Regions from separate parts of the Homo sapiens genome. Here region 2 is linked to region 1. Evidence: promoter capture Hi-C in 16 types of primary human blood cells and fetal thymus (Javierre and others, 2016). All regions are on one chromosome and are shown on one strand. The core of a region is centred on a gene start or on the middle of the fragment in contact, and the rest is flanking DNA. Distances in the headings are between cores, read along the strand shown. Region 1 holds the start of IGSF9 (immunoglobulin superfamily member 9). Region 2 overlaps DCAF8 (DDB1 and CUL4 associated factor 8).

The links. Contacts are between HindIII fragments. The CHiCAGO score rates a contact against its expected background, and 5 or more counts as called.
Region 2: a fragment that was not itself captured here is called in contact with the fragment with the promoter of IGSF9 in region 1 in 1 of 17 cell types (naive CD4 T cells); the score reaches 5.8 in naive CD4 T cells.

Annotation. Positions count from the first base shown.
Region 1 is chr1:159,943,478-159,949,569 of GRCh38, forward strand. IGSF9 (immunoglobulin superfamily member 9) reads right to left here and starts at 2,136. Exons shown (of 21, transcript NM_001135050.2): 1 at 2,096-2,136; 2 at 1-151. It overlaps LOC124904438 (a long non-coding RNA gene), which reads left to right. Exons shown (of 3, transcript XR_007066684.1): 2 at 2,675-2,975. RefSeq lists a silencer at 2,122-2,416 and an enhancer at 2,259-2,759. The HindIII fragment of the contact is 10,806 bases long and covers 1-3,040 here.
Region 2 is chr1:160,253,902-160,259,993 of GRCh38, forward strand. All of the region lies in intron 2 of DCAF8 (DDB1 and CUL4 associated factor 8), which reads right to left. Among named protein-coding and RNA genes, the nearest start is that of DCAF8-DT, 4.8 kb to the right of the region's middle. The HindIII fragment of the contact is 697 bases long and covers 3,065-3,761 here.

The DNA of each region.
Region 1 (6,092 bases), core at 886-3,385:
GCCCCTCCTATCCACAGGAGCCCAGATGGAGGGGCCAAGGGATGTCCTTCTGATCAGCTCAGGGAACAGGTTTCAGCTCTCACTCTTCTGTACAGTGAGGGCTTGGCTCATGTAACACCCGAGGAAGCTGCTCTCCGGAGAACCACCAGATCTAAATGAAAAGTACAAGGCAACATGCAGAGTTGGCCAATACTGGAGCCCAGAAGAAACCCCACCATTAGAGAAAGGCACTGGGAAGAGAAAGGAGGGAGGAGTGTAGTTAAGTGAGGGGTAGGGGGAAGGGGGGGATCTTGAAGCCCTGGGGAGTAAGAGCAGGGGTAGGAGTACTGGGAGAATGGTGAGTGCTGAATGCAGATACTAGAAAGGTGAGGAAATGGGGGAGGCTGGGAGAGTTGGGAAGGTCTTAGGAAATGTGGAAGGATTCTGGGGATGCCTGCATTCTGAGGGTCTTGAAAAACTAAGCCAGAAGAGAACTGGGGTTCCTCATATGCTTGGAAAAATATTTTTGAAGGAAGTATGGTAGATCAAGACTCTCATGGCCTAGGCTGCTCTCGCTTCTTTCCTTACTCTTGATGCTCACAAGGTATAGCAGCAAGATGGAACCAGTGCTGTCGCCTTCACCCCTCTGTGACAAATAAGGGCCCTGAGGATATCTGCTCAGGGGCAGAGAGCCAGTCAAGGGCAAATCCAGGGCGCTTAAGCCTCAGAAAGTGGTCCCCAGGACACCCCGATACAATCCCTTGTCCCATTTCCCCAGCCTCTATGAAAAACTCTGGAAGCTGAGGACCCGAGGCCTTTCTCCATTCAGTCTCCCTACACTGCTTTGGCAGTGAGTGAGTCAGGCACTTGGGAGAGGAGGAGCTGCCTCCCCCACCTGCCAGTATGGGGGATCCAGGCAGCATCCTCCAGGTCTGGACAGGTCCCGGGGCTGGCAGCTGGCGCCACTTCCTCACGATACTGCCAAGCAGCCCTCCCCCTGCCAGGCACCACCACCCAAGGACCTCACCCAAATCCCTCCCACTCACTCCCCTCCAATATCTTCGGGGTGCCAGGGTTTGTCAAGCTCTTTCTTCCCCAACCCCAGAGGCATGGTCCAAAAAAAAGCCTGTGAGTCCCTGAAGTGTACAAAATTAACCCTGGGGCATGGAGGGTAGGAGCTTCTGACAGCCCCACAGATCCTAGGGCAGTCTCAGAGAGCCAGAGGGTCCATGCCAGGGCCTGGCACTGCCAAGTGGACTCTGCTCTGAGTCCTCCAACCCACTCTTGGCCGCAAAGTTCAGGACAGACTATAAAACATCCTCCACAGAGTCTGATCCTTGCCTCTACTTAATGATCCTGTATGTCTAACTTCTGGCAATTCACTAGCAACCAAGCCCCCTGTTTCCCACTGCCTCCAGGCAGCTCTCCCACACTTCCCTGAAAAACCTTTTTCCAAGTATATAGGAACCCCCTAGTTCTCTCCTGGTTGTTTTCCGAGACTCTGAGTAACTAGGCATCCCTAGAATTCCTCCCAGTCTCTTAATATCTTTCCAACTCCCCCGGCCTCCACTATTTCCTCACCCTTCTAGTCTCCCCACACACCACTCCCTCGTCCTCCCATTACTCCCTTCCCAGTTATCGCTACTACGCACAATCCCCCCACAATTCCAGCTTCTCGCACCTGATCTCCAATTGCAGCAGGTCTCCTGCACTATAAAGAACTCCCTTCTGGTCTCCCCACCCCCCAGCCACTTCTCCCCATCCTCTCCTCCCGATAATTCCCCTCCCTGGGATTCTCCTGCATCAGCCCACAATACAATTCTGATACCCCACCCCCAACAATTCCTTTCTCCCTCGCATTCTCTGGTCCCCTGGAACTCCTCCTTTCTCTTAGAACCCACCAAGAACTCCCCCACATTGCCTCCAGAACTCCTGCAGTTCTCCGGGAACTCCCACCCACCCGCCAAGAATTCCACTTCACTCCCCAGAACTCCCCTAGTTCTACTCCTGCAACGAATTCCACTTCTCTCTAGAACTCCCCGCTTTCTCCTGTCCCCCATAACTCCGCACTACCAGCACCACCACTTCTATACCTCCAGTACGCCCCCTCCCTCACCTGCTCCGCACCGCTCGGCTCCACTCTCGCCGCTACACAATAGGGGGCGGACCCGCCTCCCCGCCTCGGATGCCCCGAGCGCCTCCCGTCGCCCTGGAGACCGCCAATCCCCCTCCCGCGGCGGCCAATTGGAGCCGCCAGAGGCACGGCGAGGCGGGCGGGACCCCTGAGCGGCCTGGGAGTTGTAGTTTCAGGAGGGAAGAGCTCGGCTGCACGTGGGCTCAGGTCGCCCCCTCGTGGACCTCTGCACAGCCAAGCGTGGAAAGGCCGGTGGGCCGCTTCCCGCCGCCAGCAAGAGGGGCAGCAGGGTCCGGCTCGCGCTCCAGGGCTGCGGGAGCTGGCCCCTTGCCAGGCTACTGGTACGCCGTCCTTCTTTCGGAACCTACGGGCGACCCTCTCCGCTCCCCGAACGGGCGCGCCACAGAGGCGGCAGCGAGGGTTGAAATCTGAGCCTGGGGGTAGGAGAACCAGGCGGGGAGCATGACTCCCCGCCCTCCTCCCAGGGGATCCACCCAGGTCCCGGGCTCATCCGATCTCCTCCCCCATCCCCATTTCTACCTCCACCCATTGCTTCTCTAGCAGGACTGGAAATACCTGTCTGCATTGGCGAGCTCCCAAATCTTGCCCAGGCGCCTCCCACCGTGTGCAGCTGAGGAAGGCTGTGCTCTGAGCGTGGGGTTGCCAAGTCAGCTCCCAAGGCAGCTCTGGCACCAACGACCCAGAGAAACAGGCCCAGAGGGGAGAAACGACAGATATCCTGACACGGGAGATTGAAAGGGAGGAATGAAATACAAGATCACTTACTGGACCCATGCAGGGTGCCAGACCCTGGACTAGATGCTTTATAACTCTTGTGTAACCTTCACAGAAACCCTGCGAAGTAAGTAGAGCTCCCTTTGACTAATGAGAAAACTGAGGCTCAGGGAGATGAAGTAACTTGGCCCAAGCTTTCCCAACTAGGTTATGGCAGAGCTGGATTGAGACCCAACCCAAACTTCATCAAACCTACTCCCTTGGAGGCTTCGCCCTCAGACACAAAGATATCTTGCATATCTTGCCCCTCAGAGATTCCACCTCCTCAGCCTGGTGATGCTGTAGGGATGCTGGGTCGGCTTAAGCAACATTGCCTGTCCAGGTCCTTCCCATTCAGTTGGCTCCCTTGGAAGCCTTCCATGAAAGCAACGTGCTGATCTCATCCCAATCCGAAGTACTAAGACTCAAACTGAGTGCACCAGGCATCAGACTCACAGAATCACTGCTGCAGCATCATGAGAGAACCTCCAGGATGGGCCTAAGCACTACTTGGCCCCAGAATCCCTGGCACATCATTTCTCCATGTAGTCATCCAAGCCCCTATCTCATTACATCCTGGGCCAGGAAGCTCAGCACTACTGTTGTACCCATTCCATCCTTAGTAAGCTCTGCCTGCTGGACAGTTCTTCCAGGTGTAAAGGTTTTAGTGCTTTTGGGTGACTGAGATGGAAGGGAAGAGGCAGGAGCAGTGGGCCAGTCTCTCCCACCATCCCTCCTGCAAATAGTCCCAAAGTAGCAGCTTTTCAACAATGCATTTCAACATAATACCCTGATCTATTGATAAGACTATAATGGAAACATGTTAATGAATGCAGCATGGAAGCAAGGCTAGAAGAAATGGTAAAAGAGTGAAGCGGGTTTTTTGTTTGTTTGTTTTTTTGTTTTGACAGAGTCTCACTCTATCGCCCAGGCTGGAGTGCAGTGGTGCAATCTCGGCTCACTGCAACCTCCACCTCCCGGGTTCAAGCGATTCTCCTGCTTCAGCCTCCCAAGCAGCTGTGATTACAGGCGGCCACCACCATGCCTGGCTAATTTTTGTATTTTTAGTAGAGATGGGGTTTCACCATCTTGACCAGGCTGGTCTTGAACTCCTGACCTCATGATCCACCCACCTCGGCCTCCCAAAATGCTGGGATTACAGGTGTGAGCCACTGCCCCCGGCCGAGCCAAGTGTTTTTTAGTCTTTGGATCTTTACCAATCATTGGGAAGGATCTCCCTCCCCGCTGTTAGAATTGGCCACACCTTTGATCTAAACTGCTGTCTCCAGTGGTTTCTTGAGGATAAACTAATCTCATTTAGACATTAAAATAACTTTCTGTTAAATGACATTTAAAATGGTTTTCAATTTTTAAAAGTTTATGATATGGCCTTTTTTTTCTGGAAACTTATTTTGTGACTTTTATTGTTATTGCCATTTTTTGTCTGATTTATATGTATATTGGAGATTTTTTGTTAAGAAAAGGAACCTAGCCCTATAACTTGTTCCCTCACTGTGCCAGGAGTGAAAGCTGATTTAAAAAATAGTCCCTGAGGTTCAAAACAAAAGACTTTCCTCTAGGTTGTCCTTGATTCATAGTCATTACTCTCTGGGAAAGCTTATTCAACCAACGAGGATTCCACCTAACCTAAGTATCAGGCAGCCCCCATATTTTCAAATTGCTGACAAGGATATCAGAAAATATTCTCTCTCTCCCCCTCCTCCTCCTCCTCCTCTTCTTCCTCCTTCTTCTCCTTCTCCTGCTTTCTTCTTTCCTCTTTCCTCCTCCTCCTCCTTCTCCTCCTCCTCCTCTGCTGCTGCTTTTCCTCCTCCTCCTCCTCCTCCTCCTCCTCCTTCTCCTTCTTCTTCTTTTCTCTCTCTGTCTCTCTCTCTGTCTCTCAGAGCTGGGGTATTCTCCTCCTCTTGCCTTTGAACATCAAAACTCCAGGCTCTCCAGACTTGGGACTGTGAGTTATACCATTGGCCTCCCTGGTTGTGAGGCTTTTGGAGTTGGACTGAGCCACACTTTTGCCATCCCAGGGCCTTCTTTGTGCATGTTGTAGGACTTGGCCTCCACCATCATGTAAGCCAATTCCCCTAATAAATCCCATCTCATATTTCTATATCTGTATCTATCTATCTTATTGGTTCTGTCTTCCTGGTGTATACCTAATATTTCAGCAGGCCTTGGGAAGAAAGGACCTGAGCTGCTCCATAGCCCTGCACAAAGAAGATGGTGTGACCTCAGAGATGTCTGCTTGGCATCGTTAAGCACAGGTGTTCCTAATCAGCAAAGTTTCTCATTGTCTATAGATAAGCAGAGAATTACTTGATATCAAATGAACCCTGAAAGGTGGAACACATGGGCTTTTAGTAGTGACCACATTTGATGTGTTAACATTGCTTGTACCAATTAAGCACCACATAACTATCCCATATTCTAGAATAGAAAGGGTGGCTTTAATAATCGATAATAGGGATGTTGTTAATCAGGCATATATTAAGTTATATCTGAGTTAAAAAAGAAAAGAAAAGATTGTCATCCAGGGACTCTGTTGACCACATGCCTGTAAGCAGCAGTCTTATTACCAGATCCGTAAAGAAGTGCGGTTTCTCATATATTGTCATTTAACTTTTTGTGTGCCTATCTTCTATCCCAATGAAACACTTAGCCCCACAAGGGTGTGGATATTGTCCTGTTTGTCTTTGAATTCCTGCTTCAGAAAGGCCCTGCTTACTTTTCCAGCCTGGTTTCTCACTTATCCCTTTATCGCAGTGTGCATGACTTTGCAGGCCTTAGAACTACTGTGCTCTTTCACATACCAGTGTCTTAGCACTTAGCTTCTGTCTCGATAGAATGCCCTTTTCTCCTTTCCAGACTCACTGCTGGCCACAGGTCAAATTTCTGTTGATCTGTTCCCTTCAGGACACATTCCGTGACTTTTCCCACCACGCCCTCACCTTCACCCCAGCCCTTTTCCTACCTTGTTATTGTATCTTTACACACTCCACAAAACATTCCTTGAAGGCAGAGGTGTCTCTTCTGCCTCCCCAGTGCTTGCCAAGTTCCTGGCATATTGCAGAGGTAGCGGCTTGTGCCTCTCTGAGTTTATATTCAACTTTCTTTAAGATCTCATCCTTCCTCTTCCAGAAGCTCGGCCTCTTTTGAGGCCTCAACCCTTCTCTGCTCAGAGATCGGCTGTAAG
Region 2 (6,092 bases), core at 2,163-4,662, 310 kb after region 1:
GTCAAAAGGCTGTAAGAGTCAGAACAGCTTTTCCCCTGGAATTATCTCAGAGATTGAATGGAATGCTGATTTTCTCTCCAGTAAAGAATCATAAAACACTAGGATTCAGCTATCTCTTAAATCTATAAAAATTATTTCCTGGGATGGGTGCGTGGCTCATGCCTGTAATCCCAACACTTTGGGAGGCCGAGGCAGGCGGATCATGAGGTCAGGAGTTTGAGACCAGCCTGGCCAACATGGTGAAGCTCCGTCTCTACTAAAAATACAAAAATAAGCTAGGTATGGTGGTGCATGCCTGTAATCCCAGCTACTGGGGAGACTGAGGCAGAAGAATCGCATGAAACTGGAAGGCAGAGGTTGCAATGAGCCAAGATTGTGCCACTGCACTCCAACCTGGGCCAAAGAACGAAACTCTGTCTCAAAAAAAAAAAAAAATTGTTTTCTTAAAAACTCATTAGCTTACCAATATAGCATAACTATGTCTAAACAATAAAAAAAGTTTGTATTCCTACTGTCATTTGAATAATTTATATACATATGTTTATAAGAAATATTTAATTCTACCTTTCAGCTTCATCTCTTGGCTTTGAAAAGCCCTGGTTTTTTTTTTGGCCAGGTACCATGGCTCACGCCTGTAATCCCCACACTTTAGGAGGCCGGGCCGGGTGGATCACGAGGTCAAGAGATCAAGACCATCTTGGCCAACATGGTAAAACCCCATTTCTACTAAAAATACAAAAATTAGCTGGGCATGGTGGCATGCGCCTGTAGTCTTAGCTACTCGGAGGCTGAGGCAGGAGGACTGCTTGAACCCGAGAGGGGAAGGTTTCAGTGAGCCAAGTCATGCCACTGCACTACAGCCTGGCGACAAAGCAAGACTCCATCTAAAAAAAAAAGAAAAAAGAAAAGTCCTATTTTTAAAGACAGCATGTGTTATGAAAGAAAGAAAAGGGCTTTGGTGTCAAACAGACCTGGGTTTGAATTCTACCTCTACCACCTGCTTTTGAGTTTTTCTTTTGTAAAATGGGATAATATTACCACCCTGCAGGAATTTAGAGGATTAAAAATAATGTATGCTAAGAGCCTGTTTGTACATAGTAGCCATTTATATTATTTTTCTAGTTTCCCATCTCTATACCAGACTACATTTCCTAGAAAATCCTGGACCTCTTTACCACTCAGCAATGATTCTCCAAACATCGTATATAATATAGGACACAGTCCCAAGTCTATGAAATCTGCTTACCCTTTCTGGCGTTTTAAAGAATTCAGAGAGCTCCGTTAATATCTTCTTTCAAGTATTCATGTTCTACGAACTGCAGTAAGACAATCTACCCAGGAACCCACAATATAAGCCTCCCTAAGTTTTTCTCCCTCTTTTAATTTTTAAAATAGATTTTTTTACTATTATTATCGTAGAGACGGAGTCTCACTATCTTGCCGCGTGGTCTCAAACTCCTGAGCTCAAGTAATCCTCCTACCTTGGCCTCCCAAAGTGCTGGGATTATAGGTATGTACCACCACACCTGGCCTCTTCTCCCTCTTGAAGGTTCTGAGGATACCCAAGATGGAAGACTGCAAAGCAATCACCATGGATAATGATGAGGATTCAAACTATGAATAAGGAACTTTGTTCCTTCTTTGAATTAATGCCTTCTCTCCCTATTGGTAACATAAAATGCCCAGTGTTTATAGTTTACTGGCTTTAATTATTGTTTTTTTATTTTTATTTTTTTGAGACAGGGTCTCACTCTGTCACCCAGGCTGGAGTACACTGGTGTGATATTGGGTCACTGCAACCTCTGCCTTCTGGGTTCAAGCAATTCTCCCGCCTCAGCCTCCCAAGTAGCTGGGACTACAGGTGCATGCCACTGCAGCTGGCTAATTTTTATATTTTTAGTAGACACAGGGTTTTGCTATGTTGGCTAGGCTGGTCTCAAACTCCTGACCTCAGGTGATCCGCCCGTCTCAGCCTCCCAAAATGCTGGGATTACAGATGTAAGCCACCGTGCATGGCCTCTGGCTTTAATTCTAATAACAGTATTTCAGACTATGTCAGGAATGCACTCTAACCCTTAAGTGTTAATTTCCAGCAGCAGAACTAAGCAAACTTTTTTTTTTTTTTTTTTTTTTTTTTTTAAGAGACAAGGTCTTGCTATGTTGCCAGCCTGAAACTCCTGGGCTCAAGCAGTCCTCCCAACTCAGCCCCCCGAGTAGTTGGGATTACAGGTACATGCCACTGCACCTGGCTAAGAGAACTTTCTATAAAAACATCCAGGACCATTTATCTCAGTTTAACTAATTCCTAGGGAAATCTACTTTTCATTTTGTTTCCATCTCAATTTACATTTACATCAGAAGTCTGTTGCCATTAACAGTTTTTGCCATTTATATTTCAAATTTTTCTTAAACTGGAGAGGATTTAAGATGAAAAAATGATGCTCCCAAGGTACAACTTACAATAAAACATTAAAGAGAGGCTTAAAACCTCAAGAAGTGCCTTCCTACAGGTTAGGTTAGAAGAAAGGGTCTAATGTTGGATTCTAAGTAAGGTTAACAAAACATACCTGGTAATGTGGCAATCATTAAAGTACACCAGAGGAATACAGTAACTTGACTACCATTAGAGGTAAACCCTATAGTAGCTTTCCAGATGGCTAAGAAAAAGCCAGGAAGAAAAAAAAAAATGGCACGTGAGGCAAATATGTATGCTTCACTTTAGAACTTGGCCAGACTTCCTTAAACAGTAACTTCAGAGGATAAACAGCAAATATCTAATCTAAAATGTTTGCATTGACCCAATCCACTAGACATACTATTAATACATTTCATTAATAAGATGACATCTTTGTCATATTAATTACTCCCCAATGCCCTATTGGCAACCTCAAGGCAGCCTCCGTTCATTAATTTATCTGTATCATAACACATTCCTGGGGTTAGATGGTACTTGAGAAATCTGGCTTCTGGCCCAGGAACTATGTCCTACAGAGGTAGAGATAAAAAAAAACTGCTGCAAAGAAGTGACTAATTCATAAAATTCATCACTCGCTAATTTTTGAAAAGCTTTCAAAGACTTTCTACTCACTCCAAGAGCAGAATGACTAAATCAATAAAGAGCAAGTAGCCTCCTTTTCTGACTGATTTTAACAGCAATGATGTTTCTTGGCTACATTTGTAAAAATAAAAGATGAAGTTTTTAATATTACTATAAAGCTAATCTAAAACTCACTGGCTTTTGGCTCTAAAATGAAAATATACAAAGTCACTACCCCATGCCTATTGCTGATTCAATTAATTCAGTTGCCTGTGTTCCAAATAGGTGAGGGTAAACAGCAGATTATCTTAGCTCACTGATAATCTGCTTTAAAAAAAAAAAAAGCTAATTCAATCTCAGAGACTTAAAAACTAACTCTAACACCAATGTTATGCAATAAAAAGTCTGGTTTGGATACCGTTATTTCTCTTTTATAATCTGGATATTTCCTAGACATGTTTAGAATAAACTTTTATACAGTAGAAATAATGGAGTAATGAATCTATCTACTGAAAGCATTTTAATAGTCACTTTATGATTTTAAAAGCCTATTACTCCCCTGATAGAATACAAGACTTAGAGCACGAAACTCAAGATCCCAGTCTTTCACAACAGGGTGCGCTTCTATACAATGTCTCCTACTAGAATCTGTTTGCTTTTAAAATGCCAGTATTGTTTTAAACTGGCAACAAAGAGGCTGCTTTCTTTCAGCTCTCTGTAGACAAGCTTCTGTCTTAGGTTGGTCCTACTCCACACTAAGGACCATGGCACTGGAACTGATTCTTTTTTTTGAGACTAGGTCTCGCTCTGTTGCCCATACTAAACTGCAGAGGCGCAATCTCAGCGCACTGCAGTGATCACTGCGCAATCTCAGCTCTACCTCCTGGACTCAAACAATCCTCCCACCTCAGCCTCCCAAGGAGATGGGACTGCAAGTACTTGCCCCATGCTTGGCTTTTTTTTTAAACTTTTTGTAGAGACAAGGTCTCAATATTGCCTAGGCTGGACTTGAACAACTAGGATCAAGTGATCCTCCCACCTTGGCCTCCCAAAAGTGCTGGGATTACAGCCATGAGCCAGCCGCACTCAGCCTGGCAGATTCTTATACATTTAATTGACTGCATTTAGCAGGGTGCAGTGGCTCACGCCTGTAATCCCAGCACTCTGGGAGGCTGAGGCAGGAGGATTGCTTGAGCCCAGGGGTTTGAAACCAGCCTGGGCAATATGGTGAAACCTCATCTTTACAAAAAATACAAAAATTAGCCAGGTACGGTGGCGTGCACCTGTAGTCCCAGCTACTCGAGAGGCTGAGATGGGAGAATCACCTAAGCCCAAGAGGTCGAGGTTGCAGTGAGCCATGATAGTGCCACTGCACTCTAGGTGACAGAGTGAGATCCTATTTCAAAAATAAATAAATAGACTGCACTTTAAGAGGTTGGTGGTGGGAACTAAAAGGTCACAAGCATTCTTAGCCTCCCACTCTAATCATCCTAGGAAATACTACCTAATAAGATGTCACAATTCTTAAGTAAACACCTAAAACCCTGGAAATATAAAAATATCTTCAAGCTGGGTGCTGCGGCTATGCCTGTAATCCCAGCACTTTGGGAGGCCAAGATGGGAGCATCACTTGAGCCGGGCAAGTAAGACCTCATCTCTTTAAAAAAACAAACAAACAAAAAAAAAACAACCAAAAATTAGCTAGGTATGGTGATATGCCCCTGCGGTCCCAGCTACTCAGCTGAGGTGGGAAGATCACTTGAGCCCAGGAGTTTGAGACCAGCCTAGGCAACAAAGTGAGACCCTATCTCTACAAAAATAAAAAAAACTTTAGAAAGATAAAAAGTTTACAGTGTGGTCCACAGACTAGAAATACTGATTTACTACATATAGATGTCACCTGGACATTCTTACCCAGCACATAAGGAAATAAACAGTCCAAGTTATCCCTCTTTCAAAGTATTTCCTTTTCTCCTCCCATCCTTTCCTTCACCCGACATGGATCTTCAGAGTTCATAAAAACACAAATGATACAAATGCAATCTCAACCCACCTCACCACCACCCTGGAGAATCCTTACCTTACAATGGAGAATTTAGACCCTGGATGATGGTAATGAAAAGTTCATCAAACCTAAAATGGTCACTGGTCTGAATGACACAGCTGCTTTCATTGTGATATTATCAGTACTTAATTTTCATGTGCCCTTGCCAAAAAGATACGAAAGAAAAGCCAACAAAAGGTTTAAAACTCTTCATCTGTGCTGTCATATTATTAAGACGGTCCAGCTGTGGAGCTGAAAAAAGAACTCTTTGGCCGGGCATGGTGGTTCACACCTGTAATCCTAGCACTTTGGGAGGCTGAGGCGGGCAGATCACAAGGTCAGGAGATTGAGACCACCCTGGCCAACATGGTGAAACCCCTCCTCTACTAAAAATACAAAAATTAGCTGGGCATGGTGGCGCATGCCTGTAATCCCAGCTACTCGGGAGGTTGAGGCAGGAGAATCGCTTGAACCAGGGAGTCGGAGGTTGCAGTGGGCTGAGATCGCGCCACAGCACCCCAGCCTGGTGACAGAGCAAGACTCGTCAAAAAACAAACAAACAAACAAAAAAAACCTCTTCATTCCTAACTCCCCAGCCCTGATTCACTTTTAAAAAAAGAGACCTTTTCCTCATACAGTTCTTTGATAATTTGTTGATGAGGATCACTGTATAGCCCAACAAGAAGGAAAAAATGTATTCCCTTCATGGCAAAAAAGGAAAGTATAAAGAATAGTTGCAGTAGAAGTAAACAACATTGCAGCAGAGAGGGAAAGAATTACAACACGGCCAACTCTGATCAGGTGTGCTAACAGAGAGTCCAAGATGAAGGAACCAATGAACAAAAAAATTTACTGATGTTTAAGAATACATTTTGAAATATACATACACCAATATCTAATATTCTCTGTCCTCTGGTTATGAACCCCCACCAAGGGTTTCATGTTCAGAAGACAACTCTAGGTGGGCACTTACAAAGGACACGTCTAAGCTGACCAATTAAAAATCAGTTG